Regions from separate parts of the Homo sapiens genome. Here regions 2, 3 and 4 are each linked to region 1. Evidence: promoter capture Hi-C in 16 types of primary human blood cells and fetal thymus (Javierre and others, 2016). All regions are on one chromosome and are shown on one strand. Each heading gives the region's core, a stretch centred on a gene start or on the middle of the fragment in contact. The rest is flanking DNA. Distances are from core to core; before and after follow the strand shown. Region 1 holds the start of MMP14 (matrix metallopeptidase 14). Region 2 has its middle 160 kb from the start of OR4E1. Region 3 has its middle 180 kb from the start of OR4E1. Region 4 has its middle 230 kb from the start of OR4E1.

Region 1 (4,758 bases), core at 931-3,430:
GGGCCCAGCGCCAGACAGGCCATGGGGAGGAGAGGGCTGTCCTGGAGCTGGTGCAGGACTCTGGAGGCCTGGTAGGAGGGACCCAGCTGCATGAGGCCTGCACCACCCCAGCTTTCCCTCCACATTGGCCTGGAGAAAAAAGCAACTATGTTGGGTCAAAGAACCCAGTCGGCTGGCTTTGTCTTTGCGAATGAGAGAGATGCAAGGTATCCCCTAGGAGAAAGTCAACGGAACACCTCCCACCTTGGCTTAGGGGTCCAGGGGAGGGTGGGGGGACCTCCAGCTCTGCAGTAGGCCCTGGATCCTAGCCTCTGGGGCTGCTCCTCCCTCCCTTCCTGGGCCCAGAAGCAAATGGTGGTTCTGGCACTGGGACCGCCCATGACCCAATTAAAACGGAGCCAGGGCAGCCGCCCCTCCCCTGGGGGACCCAGCAAAGCAGGGGAGGGAAAAAAGGTAAGGCAGTGAAGTTGGCGGTCGGCAGCTCCCCAGATGCTCAGGCTCGTTTTGTTAGGGGCGCTCCCTTTCAGGTCTCAGAGGACTCTAGGCCTGGGAAGAGGACGACTCCTCCCGGACAGTCAGGCTCAGCCTCCAGCACCAGGGCAGGTTTTTACTCTCCCTGGTCTCTGAGCACTCCACGTTTCGTCTTCCACCCCGATTCCTGGGGCCATACTTTTCCAGTCGGCCCCAGACCCTTTCAGGGACGCAGAGAGAAGACAGTATTCTTTCCAAAGAGTTTTCTCCGGGGTGGGACCAAGGAGGAGAAGCCAAACCCATATCCCATCCCCCTTCTAGGGCCCTTCCTGGCCCCTCCCAACCGCACCCAGGCCCTTGCCAGGCTGAGTGGGTTGAGATGGCCCAAAATAAGAAGCTCATTAAATCCGTCTCCCACCTTCACCCCAAAATAAGAGAGAGAGAGGAAAAACCTCCTCAGACAACTCCCACGCAGCTTCCTCTGGGGCCCGGTGGGCCACCGTCTGGGCCGGGGTGAGGGTGGGGGGCGCCCGAGCCAGCCCCGACGTGAGGGCACCCCGGACCAGACCCTCTCCCCATTCCCCAAGCGACGCCCCCAGGCTCCCTGCAATTAACACAGAAAAACTATTAACAACAAAAAGGGCCTGAAGGCGCCGACGCGGGTGGGGATAGGGGGAGGCAGCGACCCGGCCGATCGCCCGGCTCACAAGGAGAGCTTTGTGTGTACGGAAACGCGGCCAGCGCGCCGGCGCTGCGACCCTCGACGCCAGGGATGCGGGTAGGGACACAGCGGGGTCCTCTCGGGGAGACGGGGGCTGTGGCCCTGGACGCTCGGCCGTCCACCCTCGACCCCCACCTGGCCGCAGACTCGTCCGCTGAAGGCCTGGGCCACCCGGGGAGGCCGAAGCGCCCATCGGAGGGCGCGCCGGCGGGAGAGCGCTGGAGAGCTGGGAAGTCGAAGAAACAACAAACTCTCGCGCATGACGAGGAGCCGGGACAGCGCGGGGTTTGAGCGGAGTCCAAATGTTTATCAGGCGGTTCCAGAGCTGAGAGCAGAGCCCAAGGGAATCGGGGAAGGGGGAGTTCGCCCCAGTTGTAAAGTTCTTCCAAGGACTGGGAAAAAAGAAGGAATGGGAAGGAGAGTCGGCGGCGCAGGGGGTGGGGGCAGCTGGTTGGAAGCGGGCAAAAGTTGGATCGATCTGGAAGTTTGGAGACGAAGAGGAAAAAGAAAGGGAGGGGGAATCCTGCAGGCCTGAGCAGCGGAGATCCCAAAAGCCCTCCTCTCCGAATAGAGGCTGTCCCCTAGGAGACCCCCGGGCTCGCCTCCCGGCGGGCGCGACTCCGGGAAGGGCCGGGAAGCTCACTTACTTCGGGGCTGAAGCTGCTGCTTTGGGCCGAGCCGAGGGAGGCGAGCGCGGTGCCGAGCGTGAGCAGGGGGAGCAGGAGACAACGGGGGGGTCTTGGGGCGGGAGACATGGTCCGAGACCACCGGGTCAGCCGGGCAGTGTGGGCTCCGCGGCCGGGCCCACGCCCTGGGGTCGCACCGCCACTCCCTCGGGGCGCCTTTGTCTTCGGTAGGCACTGAACTTGAATTCCTAGACCGCTGTCGGCTTGGAGTTAAAGGGGATTGTTCCTCAAAGTGCCTGTTTGCTCTTCTCCTCTTTTCCGGTTTTTGATCTTTCTTCTGCTTAGTCGGCGAACTGGGGTCTGGTTCCCTCTCTCGCTCTCTCCTCTGGTCCCTCCCTTCTCCCACAGCCTCTCCTCCGTCCCCGCCCCAGTGCCCTCCTTTCCTGGTTGGGGACGTGGTTGTTTTAGCCTGAATCCAATTACAACCAAGAACTGGAAGGAAAAAAAAAAAAAACACCTCTAAGTTGCCTTTTTGTGGTGCAGGCTGCCATCTGCAGGGGTTGAGGCCGCGATGGACAGCAGGGGGCTGTAGGGGGATCCAGGGGACGGGATGTGGGAGACTTTGTCCCTATAAGCATATTCTGAGTGGCTTGATTCCTCTGGTATTCAGCATTTGTCTCACCTCAGGGTGGGAATTATTGGGGGCTATGTGGCTAGGGGCAACGAGGAGCTCAGAGTGTGGGATGGTGGTGGGGTCTTCTTCCATGCCCATGAGACCTGCAGAGGGAGAAGGGGCCAGTTTACTAATAGGGGGTTATCTTCTGGGCCCTGTAGACAACTGTCTATGTCCCTCCCTCTGCTGCTAAAAAATCCAAACTATAACCCAACTACCAACAACAAACCCCACAACCATACCGGATCTGTGGCTCCAACCTTTGTAGAAAGACAAAGGTGATTCCTTTATTGTCATTTGTAATGTGGCTGCACCTTTAATTGGAACTCGCTGGGAGGAAAAGGGTACAAGGCCGTGGGATCTGGGGGAAAGCAAATCAAGTTGGGTGAAATTATTGTAAAAGAAGGGATTGGGAGTTGGGACTCTGGGGTTTAGTTCCACCTCTACACTGAAAAAGGAGGCAATTCTTAAAGAGTTATAATCTCCTTTAGGGACTTACTGGACTCAGAACAAAAGGTGGAGGTATGTAGGGAAGGGAGAGGGCAGGATAAAGCTGACCGTGAGAAAGGGAGACAGATGAGTTGGGAACTAGACAGGTCTGGAAAAGAAGCACAACAGAAGCAGGAAAAGTGTGGGAGACAGAAAACTAGACTATCAGCGAAATCTAAGATCCAAGAATTGCATTTGGCCAGTGAGAGAGGACAGAGGTAGTGCGAGGAGGAAGGGAGAAGAAAGCAAAGGAAGGAATAGAGGAGGGTGGACAGAAATTAGGTCAGGTAGGAAGCTCCAGAAATCCTAGGGATGCACTTCTGTGGCAGAAGAATAGAAGTCTAGTGCTCAGTATTGTAATGAAAACAAAGGTCTTTTGCCCTCAGATTCATGATCAATAAAATGAAAAGCTTTTCAGGTCCTGTGGAGCCTCCAGGTTTGTGGGAGGTATATGGTGTGTGTTATTAAACAGCTACCTACCCCACAGTGACTGAGGGCTGAGCCCTTATGTAGGGCTTTCCTACACAAGCTGGGGTTGGGAGGTACAGGCCCCTCTTCAACCAATCTCTGGAATGCATTCAGAACCATGGAGACCTCAGGACCCCACTCTCGGCAGAACACGCAACACCCAGGTATGATTCTTCCCACATCAGCCTTCCCAGTGGGGGTAACCTCCTGGACCACATATCTGAATCTTAGGAAGACTGACACCAGATGCTTGCCAAAAAAGGGACCTTGGCTAGAAAATCTTTTTCATGAAAACATTTATTAGATGCCAGCTGTACATGGCCTAAACTGTGCATGAGCTGTTAAAGGCTTGACTGCCTGGCCAAAACTGGGAAAACTGCTGTCCCCTTTTCACGTTCACAGAACAGCTATTTCTCATAGTTGGGCTAGTCCTATGGCCTGCAAAGGAGGTAAATTTTTTTTTTTTTTTGAGACGGAGTCTCGCCCTGTCGCCCAGGTTGGAGTGCAATGGTGTGACCTTGGCTCACTGCAACCTCTACCTCCCGAGTTTAAGCGATTCTCCTGCCTCAGCCTCCTGAGTAGCTGGGATTACAAGCGCACCCCACCACGCCCGGCTAATTGTTTGTATCTTTAGTAGGGACAGGGTTTCACCATGTTGACCAGGCTGGGTTGGCCAGGCTGGTCTCGAACTCCTGATCTTGTGATCTGCCCGCCTCAGCCTCCCAAAGTGCTGGGATTACAGGCGTGAGCCACCGCACCCAGCTAGGAGGTAAAAATTTTAAAGCAAGACTTAGCTGAACTGGAATGGAACCAGAGATGAGAGTACTAAGCCAAGCCTCCCAGGCAGTGATCTAACAGCTTGTTCTTGGTGTCCCAGCTCTTTTTCTCTGAAGACAGATGGGGAACGTGAAGGCTATCTTCTGGCTGGATGAAGCATCTAGGTGATAGAAAAGAAATCCAGAGACAGGGTGAGGAAGGGAGGCAGGAGTTGCTTTTTATTGACTTGGAAGTGGGCTCTTCAGTGAAGCCCCTTTGGGTTTAAGAGCATTTTCCTGCTTCCTTTGTTCTTCCTGCAACTTCTGCTGCCTGAGCTGCCATGCTTGTAATCCAGCGTCCATTTCCTGTGACAGCAGTACAACTCGTCTCTGAAACAGACAGGAAAACAGTGTGGATAACATCTGGGACTTCAGCGCTATACTATATATCCTTCCACTTACAAATTCAGAGGTTTCATCTGGAAAATGACGCTGCTGACTCCCCAGTGGGAGCGAGTTCTGGCTTGGGAAGCAGAGGGAGACAGCAAAATGTGC
Region 2 (4,758 bases), core at 594-3,093, 1.0 Mb after region 1:
TGTCTTCCAACAAATTTGGGAAGCTTGGAGTCATGATTTTTACAAATATTCTCCCTGCTTTTTCCTTTCCTCTCACTCTGGAAATCCTGTTATCCTTATGGCTGTACTTTTTATAATGTCCCGCAGGTCTATTAAGCTCTCTTCAATTTTTTTCCCTTCCGCTTCTTAGACTGAATAATTTCAATTGGCCTATCTTCACATTTGCAGATTCTTTCTCCTTCCTGCTACTGAGTCCCTTTATCAATTTTTTTTTAAAATTTCCTCTGCATAGCCACTTCTTCTCCACTCTGAGAGGGTTTTGAGTTATATGAATACAGGAAAGCCCTTTGAATTAGCCCTTCAGAAAACCACCTGACAGGTCAACATAGTCAGGCACTATTCTTTGATAACGGGTCTACTCTGCTTCCTCCAGCCCCAGACACCCACACTGGGAATGCCGGATGCCATTTAAAGACTATTTTCAAGCCAGTGATGGAAAGATGGAGCAAAAGAAAGTTACACTATCACAAATCTCTCCTGCTACGTTGCAGTTAACTTTTTGTTGATTAAATGTATGCTTGGTTGCTATAAAACTTTTTGTGGTCTTTGGCTAGAGTAGAATGGTTATGGTCTTATAGTTTCTGCCTTCATAGTCAATCCTTTCCCTGGTCCTTTGGCTACAGAAAACGGCATTTCTTTGGGATTTCTTTTCTGTACCCACCGGCATTACCAGGTTACTGGCTACTCCTGGATGCCACTGGTTTGTATGAGGCAAAAGGAAACTCATGAAACTCACTGTTCTAGCATTGTTCAGGTCCTAAATTTCTTAGACAATCTGGCTTTTTCTCTCTATCTTTTAGAAACTTTTTATCTTTTGATTTTATATACAAATGGTCCCTAACTTAATGATGACTTGACTTATGATTTTTTTCATGGTGCAAAAGCAATACCCAATCAGAACAAACTGCACTTTGTGTACCAATACAACCTTTCTATTATTCTCTTTGGGTACTTTATTCAATAAACTAGATGAGATACTCAACACTTTGTTATAAAATAGGCTTTGTGTTAGATGATTTTGCCCAACCATAGGCTAATGTAAGTGTTCTGAGCATGATTAACATAGGATAGGAAATCTTATGATGTCCAGTATATAAGATGTATTAAATGCATTTTATACCTATGGTATTTTAAACTACAATCAGTTTACTGGGAAGTAATCTCATTTCAATTCAAGGAACATCTATAATGTCCAGAATTTTTAGCTGTATCTAACAGTAATAGAAAAAAGTACACCTCCTCTAACATTCTAGAAGTGAAAGGCATGATGCTTCTTTCTTTCTCCGAACAGCGACCTTAGAACAGCCTGGTTGGTACACTCTCCAGGCAGCAACATTGTCAGAATGGTATTAATATTGAATTCCAGTTCAGCCACCTATATTCTTTTCTTGGTTAAACATGATTTTACATCATGAGGATAACCAGCATTTATTTGAGTGCACAGCTTTACAAGTTCCCGTTCAGTTTTCCAGGAAGGCCAAGGTGGTAATTATGATGAATCTCTGTAAATGTCATACAAATGCCTGTTCCTCTTTCTATTTGTTCTAGGCAAATGATTTTGGTGTGACTAGGAACTGACTACAAAAAAAAGGCAAAGTTATAGCTACTAGAATGGGATGAACCGATTTTGTGATGGTGGACAAAGAGCAATAACACTGGCACCTAGGAAGGGAAAATCTTAGACCGGGAGGTGGAGGAGCGGAGAATTAATTCACTCTTTGTATTCTAGGTCAAGCACCACAGCCTAGCAAGACAATTATATGGTCTGCTGGAGCCAAGCGGCAGCTGCAGCTGGCTATCCAATCTGCTCTTGGTTTGTCATCTTCTTCCACATTCCTTGAAATAGTAAAACTCCTGTGAATATGGCCTGTCCTGAAAATTTCTGCAATACATACATCAATAGCAGCTTCCCAACATAGATTCTTCATCCTTGTCTGTGTACAAACATAGAAATCAGTACAACTTTGTCTCAATCTGACTCATACAAATGTATATGCTTCTCCTGATGTCTGAAAAGTCTTGGGTTATGCCATGAATGGCTACAGAGGTTGCAAATACTCAATGGCACTGCTCATATAGCTTAACAAAAGTGATGGCAGCAGCGGGCCATCTGGAGTGGCCACTACTATCACAGCAGGGAGGCATGGCTGGGGCTGCATACTCCATGGAACCAGGGACAAGCAGGAGCCCTGCCCCTTCTGAGTTGGAGCAGGAGCTCCCCAGGTGCCCTGCAGCTGCCCAAGCCACAGCTTCAGGGGCATCACTGTCTTCTCTGCCCAGGAGCAGGAGGGAACCCTGCCCTTCCAGGCACAGCTGCAGCTTCCCAAGTCGTGACTGCAGACCTAGGCCTCCCTATGCTCTTGGGGAAACCAGGAGCAGGCAGGAGCCCCACCCTTCTCAGTGAAGCTGCAGCCACCCAAGTCAAGGCTGCAAACCCAGGACTTCTGCTCCATGGGGCAGGCAGGAGCATTGCCCCCTCAACCTCCCTCTGTGGGCAGCTACAGCTTCCCAAACTGCAGCTGTGGACCGAGGCTTCTCTGTACTCTTGAGGGCCTGGGAAGCCCTCCCTGCCTTCACAGGCTCAGAAGTACCCACTCTCACTGCCTGGCTTCTCCTTGTTGTCAGCATCCACTCTGATCTCAGAGCAAAGTTGAGGCCAAGCCCAGGCACTGTTGCAGCACAGTAGAGTGTGCACACACTAGGGGAAGTGTTCACACACCAGCCCTCTGCCACCTTGACACCCTCCAGATTTTGGGCACTGACAAGCATAAGAGGGAAGCCAAGGGGGCACTGGCCTGAAGGCACTCCTTGGCACCTACCATCTGGGCACTAAGAATGACAGTAGGAGGCAGACAGGTTTCTGGGTGGAAGTGGTGGGTCCCCAGTGAGGTCACACCTTCAGGCCAAGGAGGGCCTGAAGGCTGGGTGTCAGGCTGCCAGTCCCACAGACTGGAATGGGAACTTGTGGTGCCTTTTCTGGGCCTGCCCATGGCTGCCCATGGATAAATTGGGCATGCACTTCCTCCCTTCTGAGGCCCATAAAAGCCCCAGGCTCAGCCAGAGCTGAGCAGACCTCAGGATGACCAGCAGCAGAAAGGAGCTAACCACTACAAGCCTTCCTCTCTATTGAGAGCTGCAGACACTGGGACAACCAGCTGCAGAGAGGAGCTACCCACCCCAGGGCCTCCTCTGTGCTGAGAGCTACAGAGACAACAGGACAGCCTGCCTGCAGAGAGGAGTTTCCCACTCCAGGGTCTCCTCTCTGCTACGAGCTGAACACTCATTGGAACACCCTAGCTGTGGAAAGAAGCTACCCAATGCAGGTCTCCTCTGAGCTGTTCTATCACTTAATAAAGCTCTACTTCATCTTGCTCACCCTCCACTTGACTGTGTACCTCATTCTTCCTGGTTGCAGGACAAGAACTTGGAACCCATCAAATGGTGGGGCTAAAAGAGCTGTTCCACAAACAGGGCTGAAACATGTCCCGTGTTTGCCACATTGTGGGTAAAAAAAAGGAGAGAAGTGCTGTGGCCCTGTGGGAAGCCCAGACCTGAGAGCTCCCCAAGTCAGGGCTATGACCCCCCTCTTTGGGACCCTATGGTTCCTGGCATCTCCAAGCTTTTGAGTGCCACCGTGTTCCCCAGTGCCAGCAGTCAATGCTGCTTGCAGTGCAACTGGTCTAGCCTCAGTCTTGTAGACAGCTGGCACCCATGCCAGCACTGCCCACCTCACTGCAGCAGCCAGCATGTCTGACTGTGCAGTGGCAAGACCCCACACTTCCTCACACATCCCTTACTGCTCCATGCCTGACTCGCCCTTGGCAAGCATAAGATCCAGGCCGGTAGCATGAGCTGAGCATAGTCTTCCAGGCCAAGTAAGTGGAATGAGTCCAGGGGGCCCATGCAAAACTTGAGTAAAGGCACCACCAACCACAGAGGTTTCTGGTCAGAAAAGCAACACCCCAAGGATCCTACAACAAAAGTGATGTAATGCTGATCCAAATCAAGTTTAACAATAAATTCCAAACTGGATTAACCTGTTGGGTTATGCTTATGTCTGGGAATAGGTGGGACAGAACATCTTTCCATTAGGAATGGTGGCTACTTTTTGGACTCTTTTTGAGAATTAAAACAAAGATTAGCGTATCAATCTAAACTTCCATGTATAATGGATAAGAAATTATATCCTAGTTATCTATACTTTGGGACTTTGTCACAGCTGACTAAATGGGTGAAGTTAATGTTGCAGATTGGTCTGCTGATAGTAGCCTTATTTAAACATTGTTTGAGGCAAATTCAATGTATTTAGTCTCGGAATCTCTGTCTGTCAAATTGATCAGAACGGCTTCTGGAGTGGCACACTCATGAGAAAAGTTTCTAGAAAATAACACAATGTAAGAATATGGAGTGGATATTGTTGAAAACCAGACCATCCTTAATCTCTTATACTCATAAATGTCTTGCTAGGTATGCCAGTGGTTTACGACCATGACCACTCTACCTGACCAATTTCCAGAGTTATGCTTGCAGCAAGAAACCTTGAGGGGTGAGGTACTGTTTCCCTCTGAGACAAAGAGCAATTTGGTTTACTCCTTACTATAAAAGCAGTGAATTCTCCGAGCTCAAAGTTCCTCAGTTATGACACAGTACCACTTCAAACAAAGTATTCGTCAGCATACATATCATCTTTTTTAGATTTAAGGGAAAGAACGACTGAAG
Region 3 (4,758 bases), core at 1,140-3,639, 980 kb after region 1:
TAATAACAACTTTGGGTATTTAAAAATTATATATATGTATACATATATAATATAAGGATACTTTTAGGAACAAAAAATACAATTTACACTTTCTAAAACAATAGAAAGAAAAAAGAAAACTATCACTGCAACAGAAGACAGACTAAAACACGAAAGAACAAATCAAGAGCATGCTGAGCAGAGCCAAAACGTTAAAATGAATCCAAATGTATCAGTAATCGAAACATATTTTTAAAAAGACTATGATTCAATCAAAATTAAAAATCTTGCCACATACTGCTTGAAAAAACAGACAACAAGCCCCAAGAAAGCTGAGCATATAGGATGGGATTCTTCCTGCTGCCTCTGTATTCAAGGACTATAGCACCCCTCCCTCATCTACTTAACCCACTGCACCTGCCATAAACAACTTCCAAAAGAATTTCAATCCTTTTCGCTTCTTTTAAATGTCACTTCTGCTGATTAGGTAGTAAAAGAGTAGTGCAAGATAAGAATAGCAAGTTAGTCTGCTAAAATAGCTCTGGCAAAGTTGAGATCAGAGACAAGAGAGAGGAAAAAAAAGACAAGGTAAAAAACTCAACATTCATACAGAAAAGAGTAGAGAAAGAAAGGAAAACTATCTGAGATGGAAAACCAAAAAGAAATTAAGATTTAGCTGCAGAAAAGGACAAACCTAACATGAGAAAATTCCATATCCTAATGTAGCAGAGAGAAAGAAGGCAAGTCTAAATAATAGCTTTTACATTTTTATCATTGTACTCTCTACTTCCTTTACAATTTGAAATATTTAGGAAGTATCTGCATCTGTTATTGCACATTTCTAATTGCTCTAGAATCACAAAAGAAAGCAGGGAAAATTCATCATCAAAATTATATATGATCATTGTGTGCGCCAGCAATTAGCAAAGTGTTGTGTCAAGAGAGGCTTTAATTGTCTTCTTCATTAATTTGATATTTATTTCCCTGGAGGGTTGCCACAGAATAAACCGTGTCTCATCCAAAATTTACATGTTGAAGCCCTTATCCCCAGTACATCAGAATGAAACTGTATTTGAAAACAGGATCTTTAAAGAGGTCATTAAGGTAAAATGAGGTTATATAGCTGGGCTCTAACTCAACATAATTGGTGTTCTTGTAAGAAAGGAAATCCAGATACAGACATGTGCACCATGAGAGGAGAGACCACCTGAAGGCACGGTGAGAAGGCAACCATCTGCAAGCCTCAATAACAACCTGCCCTGCCAATGCCTTAATCTTGGATTTCTATCTCCAGAATTGAGAGAAAAACAGATTCTGTTGCTTATGCCACCCCGTCTGTGGTATTTGTCATGGCAGCTCTAGAAAATTAATGTGAAGGTAAATTTTTAATATCCAGTTATATGAAATATATCACACAGAGCAACTTGAAGTCATAAATATACATATAAAGTATCTTCAGCATCTTAACATTCTACCTTTTACACTCATGTTTTGGTGCACTTGTTTCCTGAATAAAAGTGCTCCCTTGTCTTAGATATCCCCATGAGAATTCTGTACAGACCTCTAATTATCTTGACAACTTTATTATTGTGCTTAAACGATTGGAAATTTGTATTGGATGTGCTGCATATGTGATATTAAATAACAGCGAAATTTCCTTTATAAGTTACCTAACAAGCTTTAAAATATTTTCATATGTACTGTATATAGCAAAATGCCTCTAAATATTAAATGAGTTCTCTGGAATGACTGTTGAGCAAGGATTATAATTACATGACTTATAGATCTTCAGGATTTGCAGGAACACTTATCAAAATATTGTTCATTTTATATATATATATATATATATGTTACCAAGTAAGAATAAATATACTAAAGTGCTAGGTTATATAATTTACATTAAATCTTTTCAACAGAAACCACAGAATATCAAGCATGAGCTGGTTAACTTAAGTCTCAACTCTAAGGAGAGTCAATTCACTTAGTCAAGAAAGCAAACTCCAAGGCGGTCAGCTACTGTTGTTATCAACACGTAAGGCCACAACAGAGGAAACTACAGTTCAGCTACCCACAGCTTGAATGATACCTGAAGCTTTTATAAGTAGCACAGGAAATATCAGATATTGGGTTTTTATTAGAAAAATTAGTGACATGTTAAATAGCATAATGAAATTTAGGAATTGGTTTTTAAATAAAAGTATTTAAGATATGGATTTCAACTATAGAACTTCAGAGACACACCCTACCATTGCCTGAACGGCATATAAAAATCTAGGACAGCCTATACCTTGCACCAAGAATGCTACCAAATTCCAACCAGTGGTGGACTGGATGAAGAAAATGTGGTAAATGTACACCACAAAATACTACACAGCCATAAAAAGCATGAGATCATGTCCTTTGCAGCAACATGGATGAAGCTGGAGGCCATTATCCTAAGGGAATTAACACAGAAACAGAAAACCAAATACACAATGTTCTCACTTATAAGTGGGAGTTAAACATTGAGTACACAAGGACACAAAGATGAGAACAATAAGCACTGGGGATTCCAAAAGGGAGGAGATGGGGGGAGGGTAAAGTGTTGCAAAACTATCTATAGGTTACTACGTTCACTACAAGATCATTAGAAGCCCAAACCTCAACATCACGCAGTGAACCCATGTAACAAACTTGCTCATGTAACCCCTGAATCTAATTAAAAAAAAAAGAATGCTACCAAAGCTTTAATCCCTAAAAGATTCTGTAATCAGCCAATGGTGTGCACAGCCAAATGAATAAATAAATTGTGCTTTATTCATATAATAGGAAACTTCTCAACAATTACGGTAATGAACACGGATTAACCTCCAGAACATGACGAGTGAAAGAAACCAGGCAGAAGAGAGTTCCTACTGAATAATCCCATTGATTCGAAGTTTTAAAACGGTTAAAGTCTCTGTAATACTAGAAATATGAACATCTGTTGCCTCCAGAAGGTGGGTTGACTGGAAAGGCACACACAAAAACTTTCTGGGTGTTAGAAGTATTCTGTCTTCAGATTGTTTTAAAGTTATCATGGTCTTTTCCCTCCATTTTAAAGAAATCAAAAATAAGGATAATTAACAGAGTTAGATGAATGAAAAATGACTTGGAATTTAAAATCTTCAGACACAGTCTCATTAGTGAATGAAAGACAATTTGTGTTGTAAGCTAAAATACATTTAAAAGGAATTATAATTTGCCTCAATGGTATAATAAAATTTTGTGTCAAACATGCACAAAATGTGAAAAATCAAAATTAATTTCATTAATATAAAAACATATTTCCAAATTCTTCTTAATGTAATTCTTTATTGCATAAAGTTTCTTGTAATCATATAAGTAAAACAATAAATAAGTAAAATAATAAACCATAAATAAATAAAACAAATGAGCAATAAATAAAACAAGCAAGCAACTAGATTTGTCAGGTGACTGGGTGGGGAGATGCTCTTCAGTGGCTTGAGATCCTTGGTGCATGTATAAATCTGGTCCAATCAGGAAAGATAGACCATATAATAATTTGAACAGAAAATGCTTTTTATAATTATAGGAAAATTTAATATTAATATAAAAAATTATTAATTATAACAGGATTTAGAGTAACAAGGAAATAGGTAATACAAAGAAAAGAAAACTCTGCTATTCCTATTCCTGTAGGAATAGCAGATATAAGGTGCAGTCCCTACTCCTAGGGCTGGGTACAACACCCCAAGAAGGGACCCCTAGACCCACCCCCCAGGGGTGAGACCCAGATCTTATTGGGAAAGGCACAACTGTGTCTCACTAGATGACACAGAAGTCACTGTTGTGCTGTGAATTTTCTACAGAGAAATTCACCCTCTCATACTTACCAGAAAACCATAATCTAGGGTGCCGATTCATGAATCTAGGGATGAATATGGGGAAAGCTGGATACAGGAAGGTGTCTCACTGCAGGCTCTGTTCTGCAGTACCACGCAAAAATGGAAGTGCTGGAGGACACTGCTGGCCACTGTACAGCGCAGGAACCTGGTGTGGGTGCACTGCAGGAGCCGGACGCTGGAGAAGCCTCTCATGCTGCAGGAACCTGTGGCATGTGCACACAGAAAGCAAAAATCAAAATCTTTTCTCCCTGATCCTCTACTGGCAAAGCATAACGTTATGCCAACTGGCAAGGAACATAGTTGAAGGGTACAGATCCACATTCACGGAAGAGGCAAGGGGTGAATTTGGAGCTGAGAGTCAATAAATCAATCCACCCCTTGGACTATTCGACTTCTATATACAACTTTCTACATACATTTGAAACACATACAACAACAAAACAATTCTATGTTCCTACCTCCTTTAAGATTCGCATAAAGTGCCCATCACAGTCCCTGTGGGCAATGTGGCTGAGCTGATAACAGTGAGTCACCTGAAGTTAGCCATCTTATCAAAGGTAGAAGACAGTGTGCTTTAGAAATAGAAAAGAATGGAGGGACTGAGGCAGGGGACATTACACGAGTACATATCTTATTCATAATTTTACATCTATAATGTTCCATTTACCTTCCTTATACCCATCCAGCAATCATTGAAATACATCTATCCCATATAATCATCTCACTAGGTCCTAAAAACTACTGCTGATCTGCTGGTTCACCATTTGGCTAACGTGTACCATTGGCCACAATTTTCTTATTCTCTCTATATTTGAGGGTTCCTACGTACCTACCCTCTAATACATTATAGCGTGAGCCAAGTAGCAGCTGGAAAGATTCATCCTCCTTCTCC
Region 4 (4,758 bases), core at 1,144-3,643, 930 kb after region 1:
CATGCAAGAAAAATGACTTAGAATTACGATCTCCAGACACATCCTCATAGGTGAATTAATGCCTATTTGTGCAGTATGCTAAACCTTTTAAAATTGATTTCAATTTGCACCAATGGTATAATAACATTCTGTGTATAATGTGCACAAAAATTTTAATAGTAAAATTAATTTTATTAATATATTAACAATATTTCCAAATTCTTAATAAAATTATTGTAAAATTTTCTCATAATTATATAACAACAATGTAAATAAAACAATAAGCAGGCAAAACAAATCAATAGAGAAATAAAACAAGAAAACTACTTTGATATCTCAGGCAGGAGTGGGCGGGGAGATGGAAGATGCTCTCCAGTTGCTTGAAGTCCTTGGTGCATGTCTAAGTCGAGTCCAATCAGGAAAGAGAAACCATAGAATTTCAACAGAAAAAATTTAAGGATTAATAAACAGAGTATTAGAGTAACAAGAGAATGAATAATATGAAGAAAAGAAATTCTGCTATTCCTATTCCTGTAGGAATAGCAGACATAAGGTGCAGCCTCTACTCCTAGGGCAGGGTAGGATAACCAGGGAAGAGGCCTGTAGCCCCACCCTCAGGGCTGAGACCCAGATCTTATTGAAAAGAAACAGCTGTGGCTCACTGGATGAAAGGGAAGTTGCTGTGGTGCTGTCCCAGCAGAACTTGCTAGAAATTCACCCTCTAGAACATGGCAGAAAATCATCCTCTAGGACACTGGGGAAAGCTGTTCACAGGGAGGTGTCTCACTGCAGGATCTCTTTCACAGAATCGCCCTAAAATGGGGGGGTTCTGGAGGAAACTGCAGGGCACTGTGCACTGCAGGTGCCTCCCATGGTGCAGGATCCTGATGAGTGAGCACATGGAAAGCAGAAAGCAAAACTTTTTCTTCCTGACTCTCTACTACAAAGCTTAACATTGTGTCAACTGGCAAAGAAAAATGGTCGAAGGTTCCAGATTCACCTTCACAGAAGAGGCAAGGAGTGAATTTGGAGCTGAGAGTCAATAAATCGATACCTTCAACTACTTCAAGCTTCCCTATGCAACACACACATTCTTCTACAAACATTTGAAACATGTACAACAACAAAATAATTCTATTCCTCTATCTCCTTCAAGATACAGAACTCCATCTTGCAACTGAAGAACTTTTCATCCTTTCTCCAAAATGAGAAGATGCACAATCCCAAAAGTCATTGACTTCATCACTGATTATATTAATAATTCTTCAAATTCAGTGACAGTCCTTCCTAAGTTTTTTTTAAAAGCAGGATCTTGCTCTGGCATCCAGGCTAGAGGGCAGTGTCATGATCACAGCTCAGTGTAACTTTGAACTCCTGGGCCCACGCAATCCTCCTGAGTAGCTAGGACTACAGGTGGGCACCACCATGCCTGGCTAATTTTTTTAATTGTTTGTAGAGATGTGGTCTTGCTATGTTGCCCAGGCTGGTCTTGAAATCCTTGCCTCAAGTGATCCTCCTACCTAAACCTCCCACCGTGCTGAAATTACAGCTGTGAGCCACCTCACCCAGCCTGAAAATTCTGTTACCTTTACACTAAATTATAAAGTTTGTTTCCAACAGCTTGTATATCAGATAAAAAATACGATGTAGGGAGAGAAGAAAATGTTTAGCATACATGCTGTTGTCTCCCAGTCAGGGCTCTAGCTTGGTCTTCAGTAAAGTGTTCCGCCTTTCAATTAGGGCAGCTGCTTCTCGGTGATGGAATATGTGGTAAGATCAGTTAATTTCATGAAAAGTCAGAATTCTTTCTGAAAAGTCAGAATGATTGATATCATTGATAAAATAACTCAGAATCTCCACTTTCTTAATATAATTCCTTATTTTGGAAAGTTTCTCCTACAAATCACGTACTCATATAAAAGCAACAAATTATTAATAGAAGGAAGGAAGATTACTTTGATTTTTCAGGCAGAGGTGAGGTAGGGGAGATGGGGAATGCTCTCCCAGCTGCTCAGGGTCCTTGGTATGGAATTTATTTTTCTTTAATATTCAGTTTGAGATCAGAATCAAAAGAAACGGGCAGTTCTTTCTCAAATCGATCTGCATGAAGTGCTCATGATACTATGACAAGTACCTTTGGGCAGTGTGGCTGAGCTGATGACAATGAGTCACTTGAAATTATTTGCCTTATCAGTGGTAGATGAGAGTGTGGTCCAAAAACAGAAAAGAAGGAAGGGACTGAGGCAGGAACATTAAATGAGCATACATTTCTTTTTCATAATTTTATATATCTGACACTCCATTCACCTTCCTCACAGCATTCCAGAAATCGCTTAAACATATTTATCACATGTACTCATAACACTACATCCTAAAAAATACTGTTGATATCTTGGTTCACTATTTGGCTAAGGAGTGCCATTGGCCACAATTTACTTATTCGATCTATATTTTCAGGGTCCCTATGCACCTACCCTCTTAGACATTTATAGTGTGAGCTAAATGGCAGCTAAAGAGCTCTCTCCTTCTCCTTCTACTTTTCCTCCGAAGCACTGGTTATCCTCCGAGGCAGCAAGCAGACAAGGAGTATAAAATCTTCTTATACAGTTCTTTCCATTCTAGACATAAGAAAGTCACATATTTATACTTTCCAGCAGCCGCCTGGAATCCAGTACCATTGTAACTCTTATCCGTATTTCTAGCAGAGCTTGGCATTGCAAAACTTACCACATGACAGATTATCAAAATGTTACTATATAAGAATCAATCTTTGGCCAGGTACAGTGGCTCATGCTTGTAATCCTAGTACTTTGGGGGGCTGAGGTTGCAGGATTGCTTGAGCTCAGGAGTTTGAAACCAGCCTGGGCAACATAGTGAGATCTTGTCTCCACTAAAAATAAAAATTAAAAAAAAAATTAGCCAGGCATGGTGGTGCACACCTGTAGTCTCAGCTACTCAGGAAGCTGACTGAGGTGGGAGAATTGCTTGAGCCTGGGGGCATGGGTCAAGGCTGCAGTGAGCTATGATCATGCCACTGCATTCCAGCCTAGGTGAAAGAGTAAAACTCTATCTCAAAAAAGAGAATCAATCTTTAATATTTCAATAGTGAAACCATGTAACAACAGAGTGAAAGCAACAAGTAAAAGTGTCAGTAGCTAGAAGAGATGAATGGAATTCCATAGACAAACTTACAATGTAGATTTGCATAATTAATATACCAATAGAATAGAAGCTATTTTTATAACTGAAAAAGTCTTTGGAGAAACACTGATGAATTCTAAATCTTCATTCTCCTTGTGTGCTATTCCTAGTTGCCAGAACTCACATCACTGTGACAATTTTCTAAGTCCTTCGTGATTCTAATGAAACTTTCACTGTTAGCTAACAATTTCTCATAATTCCTCCTAAATAGAGGTATGAGACAAAATATCCTGAAATCTGAATTGCGCAGTTAGAGCCAGAAAAATAAATTCTAAGAAAATATCCTGTGAATGACCAGCTCAAGGATGCAACTTGCAAGGTAAGAACATGAGAAACTTATGTTTTGTTTTCTGGGTTAGTTGAGAGATTAAATGATAAATGAAAACCAAGGTTCTCCTAGACCATATCAAAATTCCCATAGTCAACCACTTAATGCAGTCACAGTCAAGGAAAGGTCCTTGAGAACCTGATTGTTAGGTGATAAGAAGTATGTCTCCTCCATCATTCTAGAATACTATTTCCTATTATGCAGTTTCTTCAATTAACAAAAAGCTTCTAAAACAAAGTTTATCTGACATGGGACATAGCAGGAATTGCAGAATTATATAGAAATGGCTGGATGTGCTCAGCTCTCTTTGCCTCACTCACCATCATAAAAATAAGAGATCTTTGAAAATGCCACAGGAAGATACATTGAGTCTCTGAAAACTTCTCTAGCATAGGCAGTTTGTGTTCAGCTCCCCTGCAGACCCAGGCACTGTGGTACCTGCAGCACAGAAGTACTCAGCAGCATCACTCCAATGCACAGAGGGTCTCCTCAGGTTGAAGGAAGATTGACTCCTCTTAAATTCAGCTTCAAAGCCTTCAATGCCTTGAACCAGAGTGTCTCCTGAAAAGTACTTTAGGAGCAGCTGGAGGCCTTGGCCGGGGGACTGGACATGCCAGAAGAGAGAAGGTGTTGCCGTATTGGGGAACCTGCCCCGATAGTCACATAGGTTCTTTTCTATTTTCCCTAAGTTTTGGCTGGCTTGAGAAATAAAGGGACAGAGTACAAAAGAGAGAAATTTTAAAGCTGGGAGTCCGGGGGAGAAATCACATGTCGGTAGGTTCCGTGATGCCCCACAAGCCGCAAAACCAGCAAGTTTTTATTACTGATTTTCAAAAGGGGAGGGAGTGTATGAATAGGTGTGGGTCACAGAGATCATGTACTTCACAAGGTAATAGAATATCACAAGGCAAATGGAGGCAGGGCGAGATCACAGGACCACAGGACTGGGGCGAAATTAAAATTGCTAATGAAGTTTCGGGCACCATTGTCATTGATAACATCTTATCAGGAGACAGGGTTTTGAGAGCAGCCAGTCTGACCAAAATTTATTAGGTGGGAATTTCCTCTTCCTAATAAGCCTGGGAGTGCTATGGGAGACTGGGATTTATTTCACCCCTACAGTTTTGACTATAGAAGATGGCCACACCCAAGGGGGCCGTCTATAGACCCACCCCCAGGCACGTATTCTCTTCCCCAGGGATGTTCCTTGCTGAGAAAAAGAATTCAGCCATATTTCTCCCATTTGCTTT

What was found. Contacts are between HindIII fragments. The CHiCAGO score rates a contact against its expected background, and 5 or more counts as called.
Region 2: a contact is called between a fragment that was not itself captured here and the fragment with the promoter of MMP14 in region 1, in 1 of 17 cell types (non-activated CD4 T cells). The highest score is 5.1, in non-activated CD4 T cells.
Region 3: a contact is called between a fragment that was not itself captured here and the fragment with the promoter of MMP14 in region 1, in 1 of 17 cell types (naive CD8 T cells). The highest score is 5.1, in naive CD8 T cells.
Region 4: a contact is called between a fragment that was not itself captured here and the fragment with the promoter of MMP14 in region 1, in 1 of 17 cell types (activated CD4 T cells). The highest score is 5.5, in activated CD4 T cells.

Annotation. Positions count from the first base shown.
Region 1 is chr14:22,834,007-22,838,764 of GRCh38, reverse strand. It overlaps MMP14 (matrix metallopeptidase 14), which reads right to left and starts at 2,180. Exons shown (of 10, transcript NM_004995.4): 1 at 1,840-2,180. The coding sequence starts at 1,947. MRPL52 (mitochondrial ribosomal protein L52) reads right to left here. Exons shown (of 5, transcript NM_180982.3): 5 at 3,728-4,593. The coding sequence ends at 4,444. RefSeq lists a silencer at 2,306-2,522. The HindIII fragment of the contact is 13,873 bases long and covers 1-3,392 here.
Region 2 is chr14:21,833,895-21,838,652 of GRCh38, reverse strand. It overlaps TRA. Among named protein-coding and RNA genes, the nearest start is that of OR4E1, 160 kb to the right of the region's middle. The HindIII fragment of the contact is 3,635 bases long and covers 26-3,660 here.
Region 3 is chr14:21,854,115-21,858,872 of GRCh38, reverse strand. It overlaps TRA. Among named protein-coding and RNA genes, the nearest start is that of OR4E1, 180 kb to the right of the region's middle. The HindIII fragment of the contact is 632 bases long and covers 2,074-2,705 here.
Region 4 is chr14:21,903,783-21,908,540 of GRCh38, reverse strand. It overlaps TRA and the pseudogene TRAV8-5. Among named protein-coding and RNA genes, the nearest start is that of OR4E1, 230 kb to the right of the region's middle. The HindIII fragment of the contact is 2,683 bases long and covers 1,052-3,734 here.